5 separate regions of the Homo sapiens genome follow, and regions 1, 2, 3 and 5 are each linked to region 4. Evidence: promoter capture Hi-C in 16 types of primary human blood cells and fetal thymus (Javierre and others, 2016). All regions are on one chromosome and are shown on one strand. Each heading gives the region's core, a stretch centred on a gene start or on the middle of the fragment in contact. The rest is flanking DNA. Distances are from core to core; before and after follow the strand shown.

Region 1 (4,750 bases), core at 745-3,244, 200 kb before region 4:
CCTGAGGAAGAAGAAAAATCTAAAAGTTTGGAAAACTTAGAGGGAATAATCAAGGAAAACTTCCTGGCCTTGCTGGAGATCTAGACATCCAAATACAAGAAGGTCAAGGAACACCCAGGGAATTCATTGCAAAAAGATCATCACCTAGGCACACAGTCAATCAGGTTATCTAAAGTCAAGTCAAAGGAAATAATCTTAAGATCTGTGAGGCAAAAGCACCAGGTAACCTATAAAGAAAAACCTATCCGATAAATAGCAGATTTCTCAGCATAAAATCTACAAGCCAGATGGAATTGAGGTCCTATCTTTAGCCTCCTTAAATAAAATAATTATCAGTCAAGAATTTTATGTCCAGTGAAACTAAGCTTCATTAATGACGGAAAGATAAAAGTCTTTTTCAGGCAAACAAATGCTGAGAGAATTTGCCACTATCAAGTCAGCACTAAAGAAGTAATAAAATGAATTATTAAATCTTGAAACAAAGCCTCAGAATACACCAAAACAGAACCTCCTTAAAGCATAAATCTCACAGGGCCTATAAAACAATAACACAATGAGAAAAAACAGACAAAAGGTATTGGGGCAACAACTAGCACAATGGATAGAATAGTACCTCACATCTTAATACTAATGTTGAATGTAAATGGCCTAAATGCTCCACTTAAAAGATACAGAATGGCAGAATGGATAAGAATTCACCAACCAAGTATCTGCTGTTTTCAAGGGACTCACCTAACACATAAGGACTCACATAAACTGAAGGTAAAGGGGTAGAAAGAGATATTTCATGCAAACAGACACCAAAAGCCAGCAGGAGTAGCTATTCTTACATCAGATAAAACAGACTTTAAAGCAACAACAGTTAAAAATGACAAAGAGGGACATTACATAATGATAAACGGACTAGTCCAACAGGAAAATATCACAATCCTAAATATAAATGCACCTAACACTGGAGTTCCCAATTTATAAAACAATTACTACTAGACCTTAATAAATGAGACAGAGGGCAAAATAATAATAGTGAGGGACTTCAATATTCCACTGACAGCACTAGACAGGTCGTTAAGACAGAAAGTCAACAAAAAAACAATGGACTTAAACTATACCCTACAACAAATGGATTTAACAGATATATACAGAACATTCTACCCAACAACTGCAAAATGCACATTGTATTCATCAACACATGGAACATATTCCAAGACAGACCACATAAGCCACAAAACAAGTCACAGTATATTTAAGAAAATCAAAATTATATCAACTACTCTCTCAGACCACAGTGGCATAAAATTGGACATCAACTGCAAAAGGAACACTCAAAAAGCATGCAAATACATGGAAATTAAATAACCTGCTCCTGAATGATTGTTGGGTCAACAATGAAATCAAAATGGAAATTTAAGAATTTGAACTGAATGATAATAGTGACACAACTTATCAAAACCTCTGGGATACAGAAAAAGTGGTGCTAAGAGCAAAGTTTACAGCACTGAATGCCTGCATGAAAAAGTCTGAAAGAGCACAAATAAGACAATCTAGGGTCACACCTCAAGAACTAGAGAAACAAGAACAAACCAAACCCAGCAGAAGAAAAGAAATAACAAAGATGAGAGCAGAACTAAATGAAATTGAAACAAAAGAAATACAAAAGATAAATAAAACAAAAAGTTGGTTCTTTGAAAAGATAAACAAAATTGATAGAACATTAGCAAGATTAACCAAAAAAAGAAGACAGAAGATCCAAATAAGCTCAATTAGAAACAAACAGGAGATATAACAACTGATACCAGAGAAATACAAAATATCATTCAAGGCTACTATGAACACCTTTACACACACAAACTAGAAAACCTAGAGGAGCTGGATAAATTCCTGGAAATATACAACCCTTCTAGGTTAAACCAGGAAGAAACAGAAACTCTGAACTGACCACAGCAAGACTGAAATGGTAATTTTAAAACTGACAACAACAATAAAAAAAGCCCAGGACCAGACGGATTCACAGCTGAATTCTAACAGACTTTCAAAAAAAGAACTGGTATTAATCCTATTGGCACTATTCCAAAAGACAGAGAAAGAGGGAATCCTCCCTAAATCATTCAATGAAGCCATTATCACCCTAATACCAAAAACAGGGAAGTACATAACAAAAAAAGAAAGCCACAGACCAATATCCCTGATGAACATAGATGCAAAAAATCCTCAACAAAATATAAGCTAACTGAATCCAACAGCGTATCGAAAAGGTAATTCACCATGAACAAGTGGGTTTCATACCAGGGATGCAGGGATAGTTTAACGTCCACAAGTCAATAAATGTGATACACCACAGAAACAGAATTAAAAACAAAAATCACATGACATCTCAACAAAGAAAAAGCATTTTACAAAATCCAGCATCCCTATATGATTAAAACCCTCAGCAAAATCGGCATAGAAGGGACATACCTTAAGGTAATAAAAGCATCTATAACAAACCCATAGCCAACGTTATACTGAACAGGGAACAAGTTGAAAGCATTCCCCCTGAGAACTGGAACAAGACAAAGATGCCCACTTTCACCACTTCTATTCAACACAGTACTGGAAGTCCTAGCCGGAGCAATCGACAAGAGAAAGAAATAAAGGGCATCCAAATCGATAAAGAGGAAGTCAAACTGTTGCTGTTTGCTGATGATATGATCGTATACCTAGAAAACCCTAAAGACTCAACCAAAAAGCTCCTAGATCTGATAAATGAATTCAGTAAAGTTTCAAGATACAAAATAAACGTACACAAGTCAGTAGCTCTGCTATACACCAACAGCGACCAAGCTGAGAATCAAATCAAGAACTCAAACCCTTTCACAATAGCTGCAAAAAAATGAAATACTTAGGAATGTACCTAATGAAGAAGGTGGAAAGAACTCTACGACAAAAACTACAAAACACTGCTGAAAGAAATCATAGAGGATACAAACAAATGGAAGCACATCCCAAACTCTTGGATGGGCAGAATCAATATTGTGGAAATAGCATACTGCCAAAAGCTATCTACAAATTCTATGCAATTCGCATCAAAATACCATCATCATTTTTCACACTACTAGAAAAAACAATGCTAAAATTCATATGGAACCAAAAAAGAGCCCACATAACTAAAGCAAGACTAAGCATAATGAGCAAATCTGGAGGCATCACATTACCTGACTTCATACTACATTATAAGGCTATAGTCTCCAAAACAGCACGATACTGCTATAAAAATAGGCACATAGACCAATGGCACAGAATAGAGAACCCAGAAATAAAGCCCAATACTTAGAGCAAACTGATTTTCATCACAGCACACAAAAAATATAAAGTGGGGAAAGGACATCCTATTCAACAAATGGTGCTGGGATAATTGGCAAGTCACATGGAGAAGAATGAAACTGGATCCTCATCTCTCACTTGATATAAAAATTAACTCAAGATGGATCAAAGACTTAAATCAAGGCCTGAAACCATAAAAATTCTAGAAGATAACATTGGAAAAACTCTTCTAGACATTGGCTTAGGCAAAGGCTTCATGACCAAGAACCCAAAAGCAAATGCAACAAAAACAAAGATAAACAGATGGGACTTAATTAAACTAAAAAGCTTCTGCACAGTTAAATAAATAATCAGCAAAGTAAACACACAACCCATAGAGTAGGAGAAAATCTTCACAAACTATGTATCTGACAAAGGACTAATATCCAGAATCTACAAGGAACTCAAATCAGCAAGAAAAAAATAATGCCATCAAAAAGTCAGCTAAGGACACGAATAGATAATTCTCAAAAGAAAATATACAAATGGCCAACAAACATGAAAAAATGTTCAACATCATGAATTATCAGAGTAATGCAAATCAAAACCACAATGCAATACCAACTGATATGGTTTGGCTGTGTCCCCACCCAAATCTCATCTTGAATTGTAATCCCCATAATCTCCATGTGTCAAGGGAGAGACAAAGTGGAGGTAATTTGAATCATGGGGGCGGTTTCCCCCTTGCTGTTCCCATGATAGTGACTGAGTTCTCACAAGATCTGATAGTTTTGTAAGGGTTTGGCAAGTTCCTCCTTCAGTCTTTTTCTCTCTTGCCACCTTATGAAGAAGATGCCTGCCTCCCATTCACCTTTAACCATGACTGTAAGTTTCCTGAGGCCTCTCAAGCCATATAGAACTGTGAGTCAATTAAACTTCCTCCTTTCCTTCATAAATTACCCAGAATCAGGAAGTTCTTTATAGCAGTGTGAGAACAGACTAACACACCACCTTACTCCTGCAAGAATGGCCATAATTTAAAAATAAAAAAATAAAGGATGTTGGCGTGGATGTGGTGAAAAGAAACACTTTTTTTTTCTTTTTTTTTTTTTTGAGATGGAGCCTCGCTCTGTCACCAGGCTGGAGTGCAGTGGTGCGATCTCAGCTCACTGCAACCTCCGCCTCCCGGGTTCACACCATTCTCCTGCCTCAGCCTCCCAAGTAGCTGGGACTACAGGGGCCCGCCACTGCCCGGCTAATTATTTTTGTATTTTTAGTAGAGACAGGGTTTCACCGTGTTAGCCAGGATGGTCTCGATCTCCTAACCTCGTGATCTGCCCACCTCAGTCTCCCAAAGTGCTGGGATTACAGGCATGAGCCACTGCGCCCAGCCAAAAAGAAACACTTTTACACCACTGGTGGGAATGTCAACTAGTAAAACCACTATGGAAAACAGTATGGAGATTCCTTA
Region 2 (4,366 bases), core at 696-3,195, 150 kb after region 4:
CAGACCAACTCAAAATTACAAAGTTTTCAGAGCTTATATACATTCTAAGGTATATGTCTATGTGTAAGTGTGCATTCATCTGAAGACACAAGTGATTAACTTCTTTTAATCTATAATTAAGGTCTGAGTCCTGAAGACCTTCATCTGGAGCCTCAGGAACTTTACTTAATCTAAATGGGTCTGGGTGCTGGGGTGATTACCTTTATCTTGTCTCCTGCTAAATCATGGAGGTTTGAGGAGTTCCTTCAGACCCCCAGTAAACTTGGTTGTGGAAGCCTGGGGAGTTTCTTCGGACCCACAATAAAACTCGATTGATCCTAAATGGGTCCTATTAAGAATTTCTTAGTTATTTTGTTATGGTTTAAGAAAGCCTTAAAGGAAGGGCCTGGGCAAAACTCCTGATGGGCTTTTGTTACATCCCATCCTTTGCATAAGGGCGCTGGCTTTAAATATTTAACTTAACCACTCAGTACTGAAACAGTTGTTAGTGAGACCTGGCCTTGGCCTCCCAAACTGCTGGGATTATAGGTGTGAGCCACCACACCCAGCCTTAGTATTAGGTCTTTTGGTATTTTTTCTTTCTGTAGACTATGGAAAAATTGCACAAAACATAGCATTTTTTTCCGCTTCATTTTTTTTTCCCTCTAACATACATGGGCAAAAGTAATTTGAATGCAAGTGCTCATTACTAATCTGTTGAACAGTCTTCAGATGAAAGCACTGGATGACCATTGTGTATAAGCCAGTAAATCTCTATAACTATTCATGTAAATATAATGTGAACATTGTTTAGGAGAATAAAAATCACATAAATTACAGACTTTTTTTGTTCAAGATTTTTTTGGGAACTTAGTCTGGTCATCCATGCCTTTGTAAAAATAATTGCTGCCTCAATGAATAATACCATTGTGATTCTAGATATTTGCGTGACATATCTAGTAATGAGATTTTATGCATTTTACTTATGGTGACCATTTTAAAATAAAATTTAATAATGCATATTCTTTCATTATTTTGTTATAAACTAATATCTAATATTTCAAAACCTCTTAGGTTAGTTTTTAAAAATAACATAATCTTATAATTGGGAAATAAATGGGCTTTATGCTCATTTAATTCAAAGACATGGAAAATTTCGTCTCATTGGAAAACTATAAAATCAATCCAATTTAAATGGCTTTCTGCTAGTAAGAGAAAGTTCTTACAAAGCCTCTGAAATAGTAGCATCTAACATTTTGTATTACTTGTATTTCTTATACTTCATTTTAGGGAAAATACAAATGTGTTGTTGAAGCTATTTCTGGGAGCCCAGAAGAAATGCTCTTTTGCTTGGAGTTTGTCATCCTACACCAACCTAATTCAAATTAGAATAAATTGAGTATTTAAAAAAAAATTTAAAGGTATTGTTCCTGTTTTAAGGGTACCCAGGATTTGTTTTAATCAGATATGGTAGGATAGGAAGACACAGAAATGACTGTCATGAAGAAAGAAGCTTATCCTCACAGATCTCTAGGAAACGGAGGCATGGTGCATCATGCAGAGCCACCTGGGGAAGCACCAGTGTCTGTGAGAATGTGGAGGGAGGGGAAGAATGTGGGCAAGAGTGTTTGTTATGTTTTCCACAGGAAGCAATGGGCAAGGTAGGGTAAGTAATTGATATGGTTTGGCTGTGTCCCCATTCAAATCTCATCTTGAATTGTAGTTCCCATAATCCCCACATGTCATGGGGGACCCAGTGGGAGGTAATTGAATCATGGGGATGGTTACCTCCATGCTGTTCTCATGATAGTGAATGAGTTCTCATGAGATCTGATGGTTTTATAAGGAGCTTTCCCCACCCACCCCTTTTGCTCTGCACTTCACCTTCCTGCCACCATACGAAGAAGGACGCGTTTGCTTCCCCTTCTGCCATGATTGTTTCCTGAGGCCTCCCCAGCCCTGCAGAGCCGTGAGTCAGTTAAACCTCTTTCCTTTATTTTATTTATTGTTTTGAGATGGAGTCTCACTCTGTCACCCAGGCTGGAGTGCAGTGGCACCATCTCGGCTCACTGCAACCTCTGCCTTCCAGGTTCAAGTGATTCTCCTGCGTCAGCCTCCCAAGTAGCTGGGATTACAGGCACCTGCCATCACACCTGGCTAATTTTTGTATTTTTAGTGGAGATGGGGTTTCACCATATTGGTCAGGCTGGTCTTGAACTCCTGACCTCAGGTGATCGGACTCCCAAAGTGCTGGGATTACAGGCATGAGCCACTGCGCCCAACCTAAACCTCTTTCCTTTAGAAATTACCCAGTCTTGGGTATTTCTTCATAGTAGCGTGAGAATGGACTAATACAGCAGTGTTGACCTAAAAGGAAGAAGCTGAGACAGAATTAGTGTAAGTAGAGAGTTTATTTGGGCCAAGCTTGAGGACTGCATCCTGGGAGCATGGCAACTTGAGTTGCCCTGAATATATACTCCATAAATTAGCAGCAGTTACAAGAGGGTTTTTAAAGGGAAAGAAGAGGGAGTTTCTGAGTTGTTTACCAAGAATTTACATTAAAAAGGCTGGGTGCAGTGGCTCACACCTGTAATCCCATCAATTTGGGAGGCTGAGGCGGGCAGATCACCTGAGGTCAGGAGTTTGAGACCAGCCTGGCCAACATGGTGAAATCCTGTCTCTTCTAAAAATACAGAAATTAGCTGGGCCTGGTGGCATGCGCCTGTAATCCCAGCTACTTGGAAGGCTGAGGCAGGAGAATCGCTTGAACCCGGGAGGTGAAGGTTGTAGTGAGCCAAGATTGTGCCACTGCACTCCAGCCTGGCGACAGAAGTGTTTTTGGTGAAGTTTATAGAAACAAAAGGATGGGGTCTTTTCTGCTTGGAGACCCCTCTCTCTATATAGAGAAAGCTGTTTCTCTTTCTCTTCTCTTCTGCCTATTAAACCTCCACTCCTAAACTCCTCGTGTGTGTTTGTGTCCTAAGTTTTCCTGGTGAAAGATGACAAACCCTGGGTTTATACTCCAGACAACGTAGCAGCTTCATATTGGAGGTTCATCTGGGATACCAAAGTACAACATTCATTGAAACGGTGAGCAGAGGAGCAGACTCCAACTCTGTCCTTACATTTCAAGGCTGTCAGCCTCCATTTAAGAACCAAATCAAACCAACTACTGGGCCACCTTCAGCCATTTAAAAATGATTAGCATGGCTGCCAGCCTTATAAGACTTGGAGGACAGGCTTTCTGGAGAGAACATGGAGAATCCCCGAGTACCCATGGGTTGTTGGGCATATTGGCCCTGTTTGAACCAGCTTACTTTCAGAGAGGACTTAGCTGTTGCATGGGGCTGGAAGAGGTTTTGGAGCAACTGAGGATTTCTGGCTGGGGCTACCCCCGTGTTATCCAAAGGCTTCTGGACTGACCCCAGCTTCCGACCACCTGATAGGGTGTCAGTAATAGGATTGCCACCTTTCCTATTGTAATTTCCTCCTTTCCTGTCCATGACCACCATATCTCTCATCCTCTCTGTATGAAATCCGGAGTATATGCCGCCTGCTGGTCTTTTCCACTTGGAGACTATTTCTCTTTCTTTTCTCTTCTGCCTATTAAAACTCTGCTCCAAAATAACAAAAAACAAAAAGACACAAGGATGTGTTTTTTGCTAAAGAAAATGTAATTTTGCTGGGTGTGGTGGCTCACGCCTGTAATCCCAGCACTTTGGGAATCCAAAGCGGGCGCATCACAAGGTTAGGAGTTCGAGACCAGCCTGGCCAGTATGGTGAAACCCTGTCTCTACTGAAAATACAAAAATTAGCCGGGTGTGGTGGCGGGCACCTGTAGTCCCAGCTACTCAGGAGGCTGAGGCTGAGGCAAGAGAATTGCTTGAACCCAGGAGGCGGAGGTTGCGGTGAGCCGAGATCGTGCCACTACTGCACTCCAGCCTGGGCGACAGAGTGAGACTCTGTCTCAAAAAAAAAAAAAAAGTAATTTTTTTTTAGTTAAGTGACTATTTAAGAGTTGCTTTAGAGTAAAGGAAAAATTATACAGATAAAACTAAATGGATAAAGAGAAAAACTAAGCCCAGGCAACAAAGTTACCTCTGAGACCTGTGGTTACCAAGAAGACAGTCAATGTGGAGGAAGGGCAAAATGAAGCAACCATTAAAACCAGAGGGTAGCCAGGCATGGTGGCTTCTGCCTGTAATCGCACCACTTTGGGAGGCCGAGGTGGGTGGGTCACCTGAGGTCAGGAGTTCCAGACTAGCCTGGCCAAGACGGTGAAACCCTCATCTCTACTAAAAATACAAAAATTATCTGGTAGTGGTGGCGCACACCTGTAATCCCAGCTACTTTGGATGCTGAGGAGTGAGAATCTCTTGCACCCAGG
Region 3 (4,877 bases), core at 1,341-3,840, 210 kb before region 4:
AGCCTATCATTCTGTCCTCAAACACCCTATAAGGTAAATATTATTTTAACCTCTAGAAAAACATTTACAATGTTTTTGGCCAAATGCTTGAGAAGCAAAAATCTGGCGCTTTCTTATAAATATTTTTAGCCTCAAAGAAAATGGAGGATTACAAAATGTTATTTTTTAAATCAATGTTATTGAGGTAAAATTTACATTTAATGAAATGTGCCTATTTTAGGCTCAGAGTTTGATGAATTTTGACATACACTCATATTAACAATCACCAAAATGAAAATACAGAACATTTCTATCACCCCCAAAACTTTCCTTGTATAGGAAATTCCCAGCCCCAAATCTAGACAATCAAAGAACCTCTTTCTGTCACTACGGATTAGTTTCGCCTATTCTAGAATTCCACAAAAATAGAATCTTACAGTACCTACACTATGTATCTGTCCTGTCTTCTTTTGCTCAGCATATTGTTTCTGAGATTCATGCATATCATTGGATGAATCACAAGTTTTGCTGTTGAATAGTATGCCAAGTCATGGTTACATTACAGTGTAACCATTTACCTAGTGGTAGATATTTGGGTTGTTTCCAATTTGGGGCTATTATAAAGAAAAATGCTACAAACTTTCATGTATAAGTCTTTGAATGGCCATATATTTTCATTTATCTTAGGTAAATACCACATGGAATTGCTGGGTGGTAAGATAAGTACTACATGCTTAACTTCATAAGAACATCATAAACTCTGACAAGGTGCCTGTACCATTTTATATCCCCAGCAGCAATATATGAGACTTCCAGTTGCCCCACCATGACACTAGGTGTTGTCAGTCTTTTTAAACTTTAGCTATGGTTTTAATTTGCATTTCCCTGATGACTAATCACTTTGAGCATCTTTTCATGTGTTTATTAGCCATTCTTATCTCTATTGTCTATTCAAAAATATTGTCCATTTTTGCCTTATTAATGAGTTGTAGGTATTCCTTTATATATTCTGAAGTCCTCTTTCAAATATATGTATTACGAATGTTTCCTTCTAATATATGTCTTGCTTTTTCATTTTGTAAAAAGTGTCTTTCTAGTACCAGAAGTTTAAATTTTGATGACTTATAATTTCTCAATTTTTTCATGATCCATGTTTAAATTTTGATGACATGTAATTTCTCAATTGTTGCATGATCCGTGCTTTTTGTGTTCTAAGAAATCTTTGTCTATTTCCAAAGTAGCAAAGTATTTTCTTCTGGAAATTTTACTTTAACTTTTACATATATGTCTATGACCCATTTCTGATTTATTTTTGTCTGTGGTGTGAAGTCAAGGTTCAGGGGTTTTTGTTGTTGTTGTTGTTGTTGTTGTTGTTGTTTTTGAGACAGAGTTTCACTCCTGTTGCCAGGCTGGAGTGCAATGGCACAATCTCAGCTCACCACAACCTCTGCCTCCCGGGTTCAAGCAATTCTCCTGCCTCAGCCTCCTGAGTAGCTGGGGTTACAGGCATGCGCCACCATGCCAGGCTAATTTTGTATTTTTAGTAGAGACAGGTTTTCTCCATGTTGGTCAGGCTGGTCTCGAACTCCTGACCTCAGGTAATCCACCTGCCTCAGCCTCCCAAAGTGCTGGGATTACAGGCATGAGCCACCGCGCCCAGCCCAGGTTCTTTTTTTTTTCTGTCAGAAAGGCCAATTATTTTACTATTATTTGTTGGAAAGAGTATCCTTTCCCCATTAGCACCTTCACTGGAATTAATTTTGAAAGAATTAAATTGTTCATATATGGATTGATCTATTTCTTGCCTCCATATTCCAGAGATCAGCAAACTTCTGTAAAGGGCCCAATATAAAATATTTTGGGCTTTGCAGGCCATATGATCTATTACATCTATTCGACTCTGCTGTTGTAACACAAAAGCAGACTATAAATAAGCAAGTATATACAACACATAAGCAAGTGACTGTGGCTGTGTTCCAATGACACTTTACTGACACACACTAGAATTTCAATTTCATCTAAATGTCATGTGTTGTAAAATATCATTTTATTTTTGATGTTTTTCCAACCACTTGCAAATGTAAAAAACATTACTTAGCTTGCAAGCCATACAAAAACAGGCAAGCCAGACGTGACCCATGGGCTATAGTTTGCCAACTGCTGTTTTATTCTGTTCCACTGATCCATATATCTGTCCCTATGTTAATTTTCTGCTGTCTTGATTATTGTAGCTTTATAGCAAATCTTGAAGTCAGGTAGTGTGGGCCAGCCAATTTTGTTCTTTTCAAAATTGCTTTGGCTACTGCAAAAACAATTTGCAGTAGCCAAATTGTTTTTTTGCATCTCCAAATGTCAGCACTACTTTATTAATTTTACCAAAAAAAAAAAAACTCTACTATGATTTTTGTTACAACTGCATTGCATCTTCACATCAACTTTGAGAGAACTGAAATCTTAAATAATAGAGTCTTCTTTAATTTGAGCAGTATTTTATAGCCTTCATTATACAGGTTGTGTACCTATTTTATTAAATTTATCTCTGAATATGTTTTCACGCTATTTAATTCCCCAACTGCTCATTACTATTTACTAGAAATACCACTGATTTTTGTATACTAACCTTGCAACTTGTGGCCTTACTAAATTCACTTATTCAGTAGCTTTTCAGTACTTTTGATTTATTATTTTCTACATACAGAATCATGGTGTCTATGAAGATAGTTTTATATCTCCTATTCCAATATTCCCCCATTTGTTTCTTCTTATTGTTGCACTTGATAGAACTCAAGTATAATGTGGGGTTCTTTGTTGTTTTTTTGAGGTGGGGTCTCACTGCGTTGCCTAGGCTGGAATGCAGTGGCGATCACAGCTCACTGAAGCCTTGACTTCCCAGGCCCAGGCAATCCTCCCACCTCAGTCTCCCAAGTAGCTGGGACTAGAGGCACACGCCAACAGAGATGGGGTTTGGTCATGTTTCCCAGGCTGGCCTCAAACTCCTAAGCTCAAGCAATCTGCCCACCTCGACCTCCCAAAGTGCTGGGATTACAGGCATGAGCCACCGTACCAGTCCTTAAGTATAATGTTGAACAGAAGTGATAACAGTGTGTATTACTGCCTTGTTCCTGATCTTACAAGTATTCAGTCTTTCACTATAAAGCATAATGTTATCTGGAGGTTGTTTGAAGAAGCCCTTTATCAGATTAAGAAAGTTCTCTTCCATTCCTAGTTTGCTGAGTCTATATCATTAGTGAGCGCTGACTTCTGTCAAATGTTTTTTCTGCACCTAATGAGATACTGATATGGTTGTTCTCCTTTATTCTATTAATTGGGTTAATTACTTTGATTACTGAATACTAAATTCATCTTGCTTTCCTAGAATAAACTTCATTTAATCATAATGTTATTTAAATTCGGCTGAATTTAATTTGCTGATATTTTGTTAAGAATTTTTATCTGGCTGGGCATGGTGGCTCATGCCTGTAATCCCAGCACTTTGGGAGGACGAGGTGGGCAGATCACTTGAGGTCTGCAGATCAAGACCAGCCTGGGCAACATGTTGAAACCCTGTCTCTACCAAAAATGCAAAAAATTAGCCAGGTGTGGTGGCATGCGCCTGTAGTCCCAGGTACTCGGGAAATTGAGGCATGAGAATCGCTCGAACCTGGGAAGCAAAAGTTGCAGTGAGCCAAGATCAGGCCACTATACTCCAGCCTGGGCAACAGAGCAAGACTGTCTCAAAAAATAATAATAATAATTTTTATATCTGTGACCATGGGGGATACTGATCTTAAGTTCACTCTTCCTCATCCTTGCTTTGGTAACTTGTTCAAATTTTCTTCTCTGGTTTATGAGAGTTTTAAAAAGACATTTCTAATGCGTCTTTGTTATGGGTTTAGGTTAATTTCTCCCAAATAAAAAAAAATCCTAATTTAACATTAATGTTAATAATTTAACATTATTTTTAACAAAATATTTAAAAAGTTACCTTGCTGCCTATCTTTCAGTTCTACATCTATTCTATAAAGTGATATCTACATGAAGTAGAATCAGTTTAAGAGTTCTGACACACATTCCATGTGTAAAGCATATGAGAAAAGAGAAAAGAATATATTCCCCAAACCAAGGGATGTAGTATACAAAAGGCAAAGTTCTATATCTATTGAAACAAATTGGGCTTTTCACCACTTTATGCTTACTTCATTTATCCAAGAGAATTTAATGTTGTATACTTGGATGACTTTTTCCTATTGGGTTGAACATATGAAACTGACATATTTGTAGGTCAAAGAAACGTCAAATATTGGCAGTTTCATACGGTTTAACCTCTAATTTAATGGCCTTGGAATAGTAACCAAAGTGAGCTCACCCAGTCTGTATGTTGTTTGATCAGTATACAAGCACCATCTGGTGGCAGAAACCAAAACTGTAGGTTTGTAACTGTTCATATCACTGCTGGTACAAATACAGTCATCCCTAGGTTATCTGTGGGGAATTGTTTCCAGGACCTTCACCCTTACCCCCTACAGATACCAAAATCCATGGCTGCTCAAGCCCCTGATATAAAATGCTCAAGTCCCTGATATAAAATATTAATATTTTAATATTTGCATATAACCTATGCACATCCTCCCATATACATTAAGTCATCTCTAGATTACTTATAATATCTAATACAATGTAAATGCTATGAAAATAGTAGTTACACTGCGTTGTTTAGGAAATAATGACAAGAAAAAAATGTCTGTACATGTTCAATACAGATGCAACCACCCTTTTTTTCCTGAATATTTTCAATCCACAATTGGCTGGATCCATGAATGCTGAGCCCATGGATACAGAACCCAGGGATACGAGGGGCCAACTGAATATTCAACATCAACTGTTGTACTTTCCAATAT
Region 4 (4,730 bases), core at 437-2,936:
AAAAAATGTTTTAATCTTAACACAGATAAAAATCTTTAAGTGGTAATGTAGCCTATTGCATCTACTGTTCAACTAGCATTCCACTGTTCCTTTTTTGGCCTCAAATGACGAAACTTCTCCAACGTCTCTGGGGAGACTAGTGTAAAGTATAATGTTTCCTGAAATTGTTCCTGTTTTTTCCCTGCACCATTCGTGATATCTCTTCAACTAGAAATGTTACATAAAACTTTTCTGTTCTGCAGGCAAGTCCAGAGGGAGAAGCAAGGTAAAGAGAATATTGTAAGGAAAACAGGTTGAAAGGGGAATAACATAAAAGCACAGGAGTAAATGTGAAGCAAAGCTATATTTGTACAAAAGAGGAAGAAGATGCAGAAAAGGGAAGAAAAACACTTTTAGCAGAGTAAAGAAAAAAAAATGGAGGAGGAACAGAGACTTGCTTCTTCCAGAAACAAAAGCAAAAAACACTTCTAAGAAAATGTGGTCTCTTTACCCAAGGGGATATTATGAAAACGCTAAAGGGTACTCAGCTGACACTCCTATTGAGCGTTCTACTTTCTCTTCCAATGCCTTTGATACCGCTAGTCTTCACCTGTGAATTAAATGCAGGCTACAGATAACGCACTCAATCCCTGCACAACTACAATTGTGGTTGCCATCTTTGCCTGGAAACAAAAAACAAAAAAACCCACAACTCCCTAGATTCGGGAAAAAGGAGTAAATTAAGTTGGAAAGCCAGAAAACCACGCCTTGCTAAGTCGGGGGGATATGGCACAGGTTAACAAACGCCTCCTACCAAACTAAGGTTCCACTAAAGGTCTGGGAATAAGGGCAAAGAGATGTATAGCCTTATCGCGACCGCAAGGGTGGGGCCTTGCAGTGGGAAACAAAATAGAAGGCAAGCTATCCCGAGAGGTTTAAGGGGGCTGAGGACTCGGCTCTCGGGAGATCGCCCATCAGGCGGTGGACACGGGGCAGCTTCGAGAGGAAGGAGACAGTGGACTGCTGGAGGAATGTCCGCGAGAATACCGAGGCTGATGGAAATAGAAGATACCCACGGGCACAGGATTAAGAGTCAAAGGGAAGAAGAGAGGGACGGGGCCGAGCAGTCTGGGGGGCCCGGCGTGGGAGGCCGGAGCAGAGGCCGCTAAGCGCCGTCCGCAGCCAGCCGCCTTCTCCGGAGACGCATTCTCGGCTCCCGCACACTCAGCCCCCCGCCGCCCCTGCCCCGGCAACAACCGCGGGCGCAGCTGTTTCCGTCGGGCCAGGGACAGCGGGGGTAAAGGCAACCCTGGGGCTGGCGGGCAGCAGACTGGCAGCGCCCGTGTGTGTGTGCGGGGAGCCGATTCTGAGACCGCCAACGCCAGACTTTGCCCTTTCTTCCCCAACCCTCCTTTATCACCCAACTTCCCGGCCGGCTGGTGTCCGCTTCGACCGACGGATACCGCACCCCCCACAACGCCTCTCGCCGCCTCTTACCCCTCCCCCGACGCCCTGAGCTGAGGGAAAACAGGCCACCCGGACCGATCCCGAACCCGCCCGGGTGTCCCCGAATCGCGGACGCCACCCCCGCCCGAACGCTGGCACTCTCTCGGCGGCTCCCTGGCCCGCCCAGATGCAGCAAACTCCTCTCACCTGCATTGACGCCATGATGGAACCATCCCCCCAAGACCGGCGAGGCCAGAGACGCAGGGGGAGGAGCTGCCGTGCTCGCGTCACGCCGCGGGGGCTCAACATCCCGGGCGCGGGGGCGGGGTCTGCGATGGGAAGGGGATGGAGCGAGGGGATTGGCTGGCGCGCAGGGCGGACGGGAGGAGGGGCTACGGGGCGGGGCGAGGGCGCGGTAAATGGCGCTCTGAGTACTTTCTGTCTCAGTCCGGCTGGCCGCTCACGCGTCGGGCCCCCATTTACTCTCGTTACTGAGGAGACACGGCTCCAGTTTTGACCCGACTACGGTTGTTTTCTTCGTGTGTACCGCGAAATGCTGATGACGTCCGGTTCCGCGCAGTTTTTTTCCTATTTCGTTTCCAACCACAGTTGTGCGGTTCACAGATTTTTCCCTTGGGATGTGTTTTCCATACCTCCAAGCCCACTCTCAGAGCCTTGGGGCCCCATAAAACTTCATGCGCAGCTGCTTTCTGGTATTTGCAGACCTGGAAGGCTTCTCGTATTCTTAATTTGGGGAAGAGAGACATAGGTTTCCTTGTACAACGGGATGAGGATTTAAGAGCAGAACGACACTGATATTTTAAAGGCGAGGGTATTTAGATTTGTGGAGCTGAAACTTGCCTGAAAAGGGAGACAAAATTTGGAAGTTTGTTGTGTGCAGTTTCTGCCCCTTACCCCCGCCCTTCACTTTTAAACTGCGCATATATCAACAATAGTTACGGTTGTTGCAGCAGTCTAAATTTGATTATCAGAATTGACCCTAGGCATGAATTTTTTTTTAAATATACCAATGTCGTGTTATATACACTTATACCATTATGTCCAGACTTCTCTTAAGCATAGTTCGTGGTGGGCAGTTTTGTGGTCATTTAGGGATGAACTTGGGTAGGGAAAGCTGAGCATACATAATTTATTTTAGGAATGCACCAGTTCTGCCAACATTTATCAGAAGTCACGTTTTTAAAAAGCTATTCTGGAACTGAAGATGTCATTGGTTTATAAGAGGAAAATGGAAGCCAAAAGCTTACACCTCATGCTCTATCTTTAAAAATTAAGGTGGCAGACACAATGAGTAGAAGGCTTTTATGTTACCAGAATGAAGGCTTAAAATCTGTCATTTTATTGACTCGGCTTTCTTTTTAGAAATTTCTTTAAGATATAAAAGCAATGTGGAATATCACTCTTTCACACTCTTAAAATAGATTACGTTCTCTGGAACTTCTCTAATCTGAAATGTGTTCAAAAAGGAAAAAGATCTTTAAAATACGCCAGTTAGTCTATGGTATAATATTAAACACTATTCATCACTAGAGAAGTTATGGTGGTATACCCTCCCCTTTCTCAGATGTCCACCTTAATGCCAGAAATGAGCGGAGTTTCCCTTTGTTGTGCAAAATGACTGTGTCCTTGAGGGATGTTTGGATGCTCTTGGTAAACCGGAATCAGCCAGAAGCATATCCGGTGTTAGCCTTGTTGTGTCATCAACATTACAACAGTGAGGAAACCCACATATTCCAATGAAAGAGGAAAACTTAAAGAAGAAGTTTCCAGTGTATTTTCTTTGAGATATATTTATTCCTATGACCTCAGAAGATCAGCTTTTACCGTCCAAGGTTCACTTTGCCTAAAAGCTGATTGTTCCTGTGGAAACAGTAGCATCGGATGACCCTACAAACAAAGCATTATGACATCATCAGAGCCAACAACCTGGCATGACAGATACTAATAAGGAAAAAAGAGGTTACAAGAATTCTGACACTCATCACAGTGGATCCAATATCTGGTCCCTTGGGTTTCATATATGTTAGAAGTATCTTCTCAGGAGGGAAAAGTCAATGCCAGTCATATCCTTTCTAGGTAATACTAAATAGCACATAATAACCTGTCTTCTTTTTTTTTTCTTTTTCTTTGAGACGGAGTCTCAGTCTCACCCAGGCTGGAGTGCAATGGCGCGATCTTGGCTCACTGCAACTTCTGCCTCCCAGGTTCAAGTGATTCGAGTAGGTGGGATTACAGGCGCACACCGCCACGCTCTGCTAATTTTTTGTAATTTTTTTGTATATTTTGTAGAGATGGGGGTTTCACCATGTTGGCCAGGCTGGTCTCGAAGTCCTGACCTCGTGATCCACCCGCCTCAGCCTCCCAAAGTGCTGGGATTACAGGTGTGAGCCACTGCGCCCGGCCATTCTTTTGTTAATATTTAATAAAAAGATCCTGACATAGGAGCCAAAACAGTGACTTACAGATGGTATGGGGGGTATATAATTATCTCCAGTGAGCATGTAATGTTAATATCTAAAACACTATTATGCCATGTTTGAAGACTAGGCTCATATTTCTACAGAGCGAGGCTTACTATCATTACTATCAGATAGGCAAAAGTTAAAATGTCTGACAGGATAATGCCAGTGCACTCCAGTCTAGGTGACAGAGCAAGACCCTGTTGTCTCAAAAAAAATATCTGACAATACCAAAAGTGAGAGAGGAAGTGGAGCTCTCATAAACTCTATAGGAGTGACACTAGTGCAATCACTTTGGAAAATAGTTCGGCAATAATGAAGTTAAAGTTTCCCATATCCTTACTGGATCTTCTTAATAGCATCATATGAGTTTTATATATATTTATATATATATTATAAATATATATATTTATATATAATATAAAATATATATATTATATATTTATATATATATTTATATATATATATATATTTTTTTTGAGACGGAGTCTCAGTCTGTCACCCAGGCTAGAGTGCGGTGGCGCGATCTTGGCCCACTGCAACTGCAGCCTGCCGGGCTCAGGTGATTCTCCTGCCTCAGCCTCCCTAGTAGCTGGGACTACAGGCATGTGCCACCACACCTGGCTAATTTTTTGTATTTTTAGTAGAGACGGGGTTTCATCATGTTGCCCAGGCTGGTCTCGAACTCCTGGCCTCAAGTGATCCACCTGCCTTGGCCTTCCAAAGTGCTGGCATTACAGGGATTACAGGCCATGCTTGGCCACGTAAGAGTACATTGAACAAATGCATATGTTAACATTGTTTGGATCTAGATTCAAACAAACT
Region 5 (4,616 bases), core at 1,473-3,972, 130 kb after region 4:
ACTGTTTTTTTTTTTAATTGTGCATTTCTTTTACACAATCTCTGTGGAATTACATTGATATTTTACCTGAATCTTCAAAGTTTCTCTTTCTTGAGACCTCAGAGGTGTCAGACTCAAATCAGCTTGTCTACTTCTTCTCTCCCTCCTCCCACTTTCTTCCATAAACATCTATTGAACCTAATTTGAGCAAATCGTGATTTACGTTCTGGTTATCTGAAGTTGAATGGTAGGATCTCCTTCCTCAGAAAGTTACTCTGGGGAAAACTGGATTGCCATATGCAGAAGAATAAAACTGGACCCCTAGCTCTCACCACATACAAAAATCAACTCAAGATGGATGAACAACTTAAGCATAAGATCTGCAATTACAAACATACTAGAAGAAACCTAGGAAAGATTCTTCTGGACATTGGTCTAGGCAAAGAATTTATGACAAAGATCTCAAAAGCACAGGCAATAAAGACAAAAGTAGACAAATGGGATTTAATTACATCAAAAAGCTTCTGCATAGCAAAAGAAATAATCAACGGAGTGAACAGACAACCTGTAGTATATGAGAAAAAATTCGCAAACTATTCATCCAACAGGGGACTAATATTCAGAATGTACAAAGAACTCAAGCAACTCAACAGCAACAACAAAAACAAATAACCCCATTAAAAAGTGGGAAGAGTGGCTAGGCGCAGTGGCTCACGCCTGTAATCCCAGCACTTTGGGATACCAAGGCAGGTGGATCATGAGGTCAGGAGTTCGAGACCAGCCTGGCCAACATAGTGAAACCCCATCTCTACTAAAACTACAAAAATTAGCCAGGTGTGGTGGCATGCGCCTGTAGTCCCAGCTACTTGAGAGGCTGAGGCAGGAGAATCGCTTGAACCCAGGAGGTGGAGGTTGCAGTGAGGCGAGACCATGCCATTGCACTCCAGCCCAGGTGACAGAGTGAGACTCCATCTCAAAAAAAAAAAAAAAAAAAGTGGGAAAAGGACATGAATAGACACTTATAGATACTTTTCAAAAGAACAGATAGAAATGGTCAATAGGTATATTACTAATCATCAGAGAAAAGCAAATTAAAGTTGCAATGAGATATCATCTTACCCCAGCCAGAATGGCTATTCTTAAAAAGACAAAAAGTAACAGATGTTAGCAAGAATATGGAGAAAAAAGAACTCATCCATTTTTGGTGGGAATGTAAATTAGTATAGTCTATGGAAAGCAATATGGAGATTTATCAAAGAACTAAAAATAGAACCACCATTCCATCTAGCAATTTCACTACTAGGTATCTACTCAAAGGAAAAGAAATCAATATATCAAAAAGATACCTGCACTCATATGTTTATTGCACTAGTCACAATAGCAAAGATATGGAATTTACCTAAGTGTCCATCAACAGACAAATGGGTAAATAAAATGTGGTATATTTACACAATGGAATACTATTAAGCCATTAAAAAAATGAAATCATGTATTTTTCAGCAACATGGATGGAACTAGAGGCCATTATCTTAACTGAAACAAACCAGGCACAGAAAGTCAAATATTGCATGTTCCCACTCATAAGTGGGTGCTAAAAAATGTGTACACATGTACTACAGAGTGGAATGATAGTGAAGAGTTGGAAGGGTGAGGGGGTGGATGATGTAAAATTAGTTAATGGGTATATGTTACTTGGGTGATGGGCACCCTAAAAGCCCTGACTTGACCACTACACAACCTATGCAGGTAATGAGATTGCACATGTACCTGGTAAATCAGTATAAATAAATAAATAAAAAAGTCACTCCATTCTGGGAAAGACAGTTATAAGAACAAAATTTATAATAAAATTATGTGTAATTTTATTGTAAATTGATTATAGGTATGAGCCATTGCCATACAATAAAATTATATTTACATATAATTTTTTTGTAAAATTATTGTAAATTTTTTGTAAATTTATTGTAAAAAGGTGTATGTAAATAACATATAGTTCTATTAGCAATAGAACTATATGTTATTGGTTTTAACTATATAATTACTAAATAACTGTGGCAGAAAAACTGGGATAAGTTTTTTTTTTGAGACAAGATCTTATCTTGTGGCTCTGTCACCCAGATTAGAGTGCAGTGGTGCAACCATAGCTCACTGCAGCCTCAAACTCCTGGGCTGAAGTCATCATCTAGTCACAGCCTCCTGAGTAGCAAGGACTACAGGCACAGATCACCATGTCCAGCTAATTTTTTTTTCTTTTTTTTTGGAGTCAGAATCTCACTCTGTCACCCAGGTTGGAGTGCAATGGCACAATCTCAGCTCACTGCAACCTCCACTTCCCGGGTTCAAGTGATTCTGCCTCAGCCTCCCGAGTAGCTGGGACTACAGGCGTGTGTCACCATGCCCGGCTAATTTTTGTATTTTTAGTAGAGACAGGTTTTCATCATGTTAGCCAGGCTGGTCTCAAACTCCTGACCTCAGGCCATCTGCCTGCCTCGGCCTCCCAAAGTGCCTCCCAAAGTGCTGAGATTACAGGTGTGAGCCACCGCACCTGGCCCTAATTTTAAATTTAATTTTATTTTAATTAAAAAATAGAGATAAGGTCTCACCATCTTGCCCAGGCTGGTGTTGAACTCCTGGGCTCAAGTGATCCTCCTGCCTCAGCTTCCCAGAGTGCTGGGATTACAGGTGTGAGCCATTGCTCCTGGACATTTTTAAATTTTTTGTAGAGACAGGGTCTCACTATGTTGCCCAGGCTGGTCAGACAAGCCTTCAATAGAGTATTTTATTAGGGTCTTGAATCTGAGAACATCAGAGGGTGAGGGGGAAAAACATTCCCTGGAGAGGAAACAGCATGTACAAACACATCTAGTCATGAAAGAGTATGGTTTATTTGGAGAGTAGTTTTTTTGTAGTTGGAGCAGAATGTGCTTGTGGGGAATTGCTGGAGATGAGCCTAGAAAAGGGGGCAGTGTGAGCATGTAACTCATGCGCAAAATATTGGCCGGTATCCTATAGTCAGTGGGCAGGGATGACCCACTGAGATTTCCATTTTTACAGATAACTAGCATCCATATGGCAGGAGGTGGGGGTAGGCTGAGGCAGGAAACTTGGGTGGAAGGAAGAGCATCCAGGAGGCTCTGTGAGAGACCATGAGGGCTGAACGAGACGGCGGCCAGGGAGTAGCAGGGAGGAGATGAAAGAGAGATTTTTGGGAGACAGAATAGGCAGGATACACTGATTTAATGTGGCAGGCAAGGATTAGGTAAAATCAAGACCCTCTTGGGCTGGGTGCCTGTAATCCTAGCACTTTGGGAGGCTGAGGCTAGGAGTTTGGGGCCAGCCTGGGCAAGGAGGTGAAACACCATCTCTGAAAAAAAAAAAAAATTAGCTGGGTGTGGTGGTACCAGCCTTTAGTCCAGCTACTTGGGACTGAGGTGGGAGGATCACTTGCACCCAGGAGGTCTTGGCTAGCTGTGATCCACCGCTGCACTCCCTGACTTAAAAAAAAAAAAAGAAAAAAAAAAAAGCACCACACTTGAGGGCCAGTGACTGGATGTATGGAAGTGCCATTATCTGAGATGATGTGTACAAAAGAACAGGCAGGTTTTTTTTTTTTTTTTTTTAAAGGGAAACATAATGAGTTCTGGCTTGGGCATGTTAAGCTCAAGGTAATTTTGGAATATTCAAATAAACATGGCCATCTGGCAGCTGAGTATGTGGGCCCAGAACTTAGGACTTTCTGATTTAAGAAGCATTGACGTATCAAGAGACCCTTGAAATTTGGGAGTCGAATTTGCAAGTACCATACATATCTATGTTTAAAATAATTTTCCTTTTGGTTGTTATAAAAGTTATACATCTTTATGATATGATATTTAGAAAATATGGACAAGCAATTATAAAGTAAAAGTTACCCATAATCTCACCAGTTTACACACACACACACACACACACACACACACACACATATATCTGTTTCTCTCAAAAACACATTTATGAATCAATGGATGGATATTTCAAAGCATCTTAAATTTAATAAGCCTGGGCTGGGCACGGTAGCTCATGCCTGCAATCCCAGCACTTTGTGAGGCCAAGGGAGGTGGGCTGCTTGACATCAGGAGTTTGAGAACAGCCTGGGCAACATGGTAAAATGCCGTCTCTACCAAAAATACAAAAATTAGCTGGGTCTGGTTGTGCATGCCTGTGGTCCCAGATACTTGAGAGGCTGAGGCGGGAGGATCACTGGAGCTTGGGCAGTGGAGGCTGCAGTGAGCCGTGATTGCACCACTGCACTCCAGCCTGGGCAACAGAGCAAGATCCTGTTTAAAAAAAAATTCATAAGCCTGTAAGTTCTGTTACCGGGATTTTGCTGGGGCTGCTGTTACTAAGTACCATAAACTGAATACCTTAGAAAAACAGAAATTTATCATGTAACAGCTCTGGAGTCCAGAAGTCTGAAACCAAGATAACGAGGCCATGCTCCCTCTGTAGGAGCTAGGCATGGATCTGTTCCAGGCCTCTCTCCTAGCTTCTGGTGGCCTAAGGCATGTCTTGCCTTGTAGATGGTCATCTTCTTCCTGGGTCCTTTCACTGTGGTCTTCCCTCCTATGTTTGTCTATCTCAGTGTCCAAATTTCCCCT

Evidence for each region. The method cuts DNA at HindIII sites, captures the fragments that hold promoters and counts their contacts. A CHiCAGO score of 5 or more calls a contact.
Region 1: a fragment that was not itself captured here is called in contact with the fragment with the promoter of UBE2W in region 4 in 4 of 17 cell types (megakaryocytes, erythroblasts, M1 macrophages and 1 more); the score reaches 8.2 in megakaryocytes.
Region 2: a contact is called between a fragment that was not itself captured here and the fragment with the promoter of UBE2W in region 4, in 2 of 17 cell types (activated CD4 T cells and neutrophils). The highest score is 11.8, in activated CD4 T cells.
Region 3: a contact is called between a fragment that was not itself captured here and the fragment with the promoter of UBE2W in region 4, in 2 of 17 cell types (non-activated CD4 T cells and M2 macrophages). The highest score is 5.9, in non-activated CD4 T cells.
Region 5: a fragment that was not itself captured here is called in contact with the fragment with the promoter of UBE2W in region 4 in 2 of 17 cell types (activated CD4 T cells and neutrophils); the score reaches 7.8 in activated CD4 T cells.

Annotation. Positions count from the first base shown.
Region 1 is chr8:73,681,004-73,685,753 of GRCh38, forward strand. The region is part of intron 5 of STAU2 (staufen double-stranded RNA binding protein 2); the gene reads right to left. Among named protein-coding and RNA genes, the nearest start is that of STAU2, 63 kb to the right of the region's middle. RefSeq lists a silencer at 788-988. The HindIII fragment of the contact is 3,262 bases long and covers 364-3,625 here.
Region 2 is chr8:74,027,687-74,032,052 of GRCh38, forward strand. LY96 (lymphocyte antigen 96) reads left to right here. Exons shown (of 5, transcript NM_015364.5): 5 at 1,270-1,393. The coding sequence ends at 1,368. Among named protein-coding and RNA genes, the nearest start is that of LY96, 38 kb to the left of the region's middle. The HindIII fragment of the contact is 911 bases long and covers 1,491-2,401 here.
Region 3 is chr8:73,661,275-73,666,151 of GRCh38, forward strand. All of the region lies in intron 6 of STAU2 (staufen double-stranded RNA binding protein 2), which reads right to left. Among named protein-coding and RNA genes, the nearest start is that of STAU2, 83 kb to the right of the region's middle. RefSeq lists a silencer at 4,200-4,494. The HindIII fragment of the contact is 9,464 bases long and covers 1-4,877 here.
Region 4 is chr8:73,877,176-73,881,905 of GRCh38, forward strand. It overlaps UBE2W (ubiquitin conjugating enzyme E2 W), which reads right to left and starts at 1,687. Exons shown (of 6, transcript NM_018299.6): 1 at 1,633-1,687. The coding sequence starts at 1,647. It overlaps LINC01617 (long intergenic non-protein coding RNA 1617), which reads left to right and starts at 1,807. Exons shown (of 3, transcript NR_147034.1): 1 at 1,807-3,522. RefSeq lists enhancers at 370-419, 896-1,773 and silencers at 1,160-1,419, 1,440-1,489, 1,630-1,919. The HindIII fragment of the contact is 3,471 bases long and covers 1-2,686 here.
Region 5 is chr8:74,010,905-74,015,520 of GRCh38, forward strand. All of the region lies in intron 3 of LY96 (lymphocyte antigen 96), which reads left to right. Among named protein-coding and RNA genes, the nearest start is that of LY96, 22 kb to the left of the region's middle. The HindIII fragment of the contact is 4,449 bases long and covers 499-4,616 here.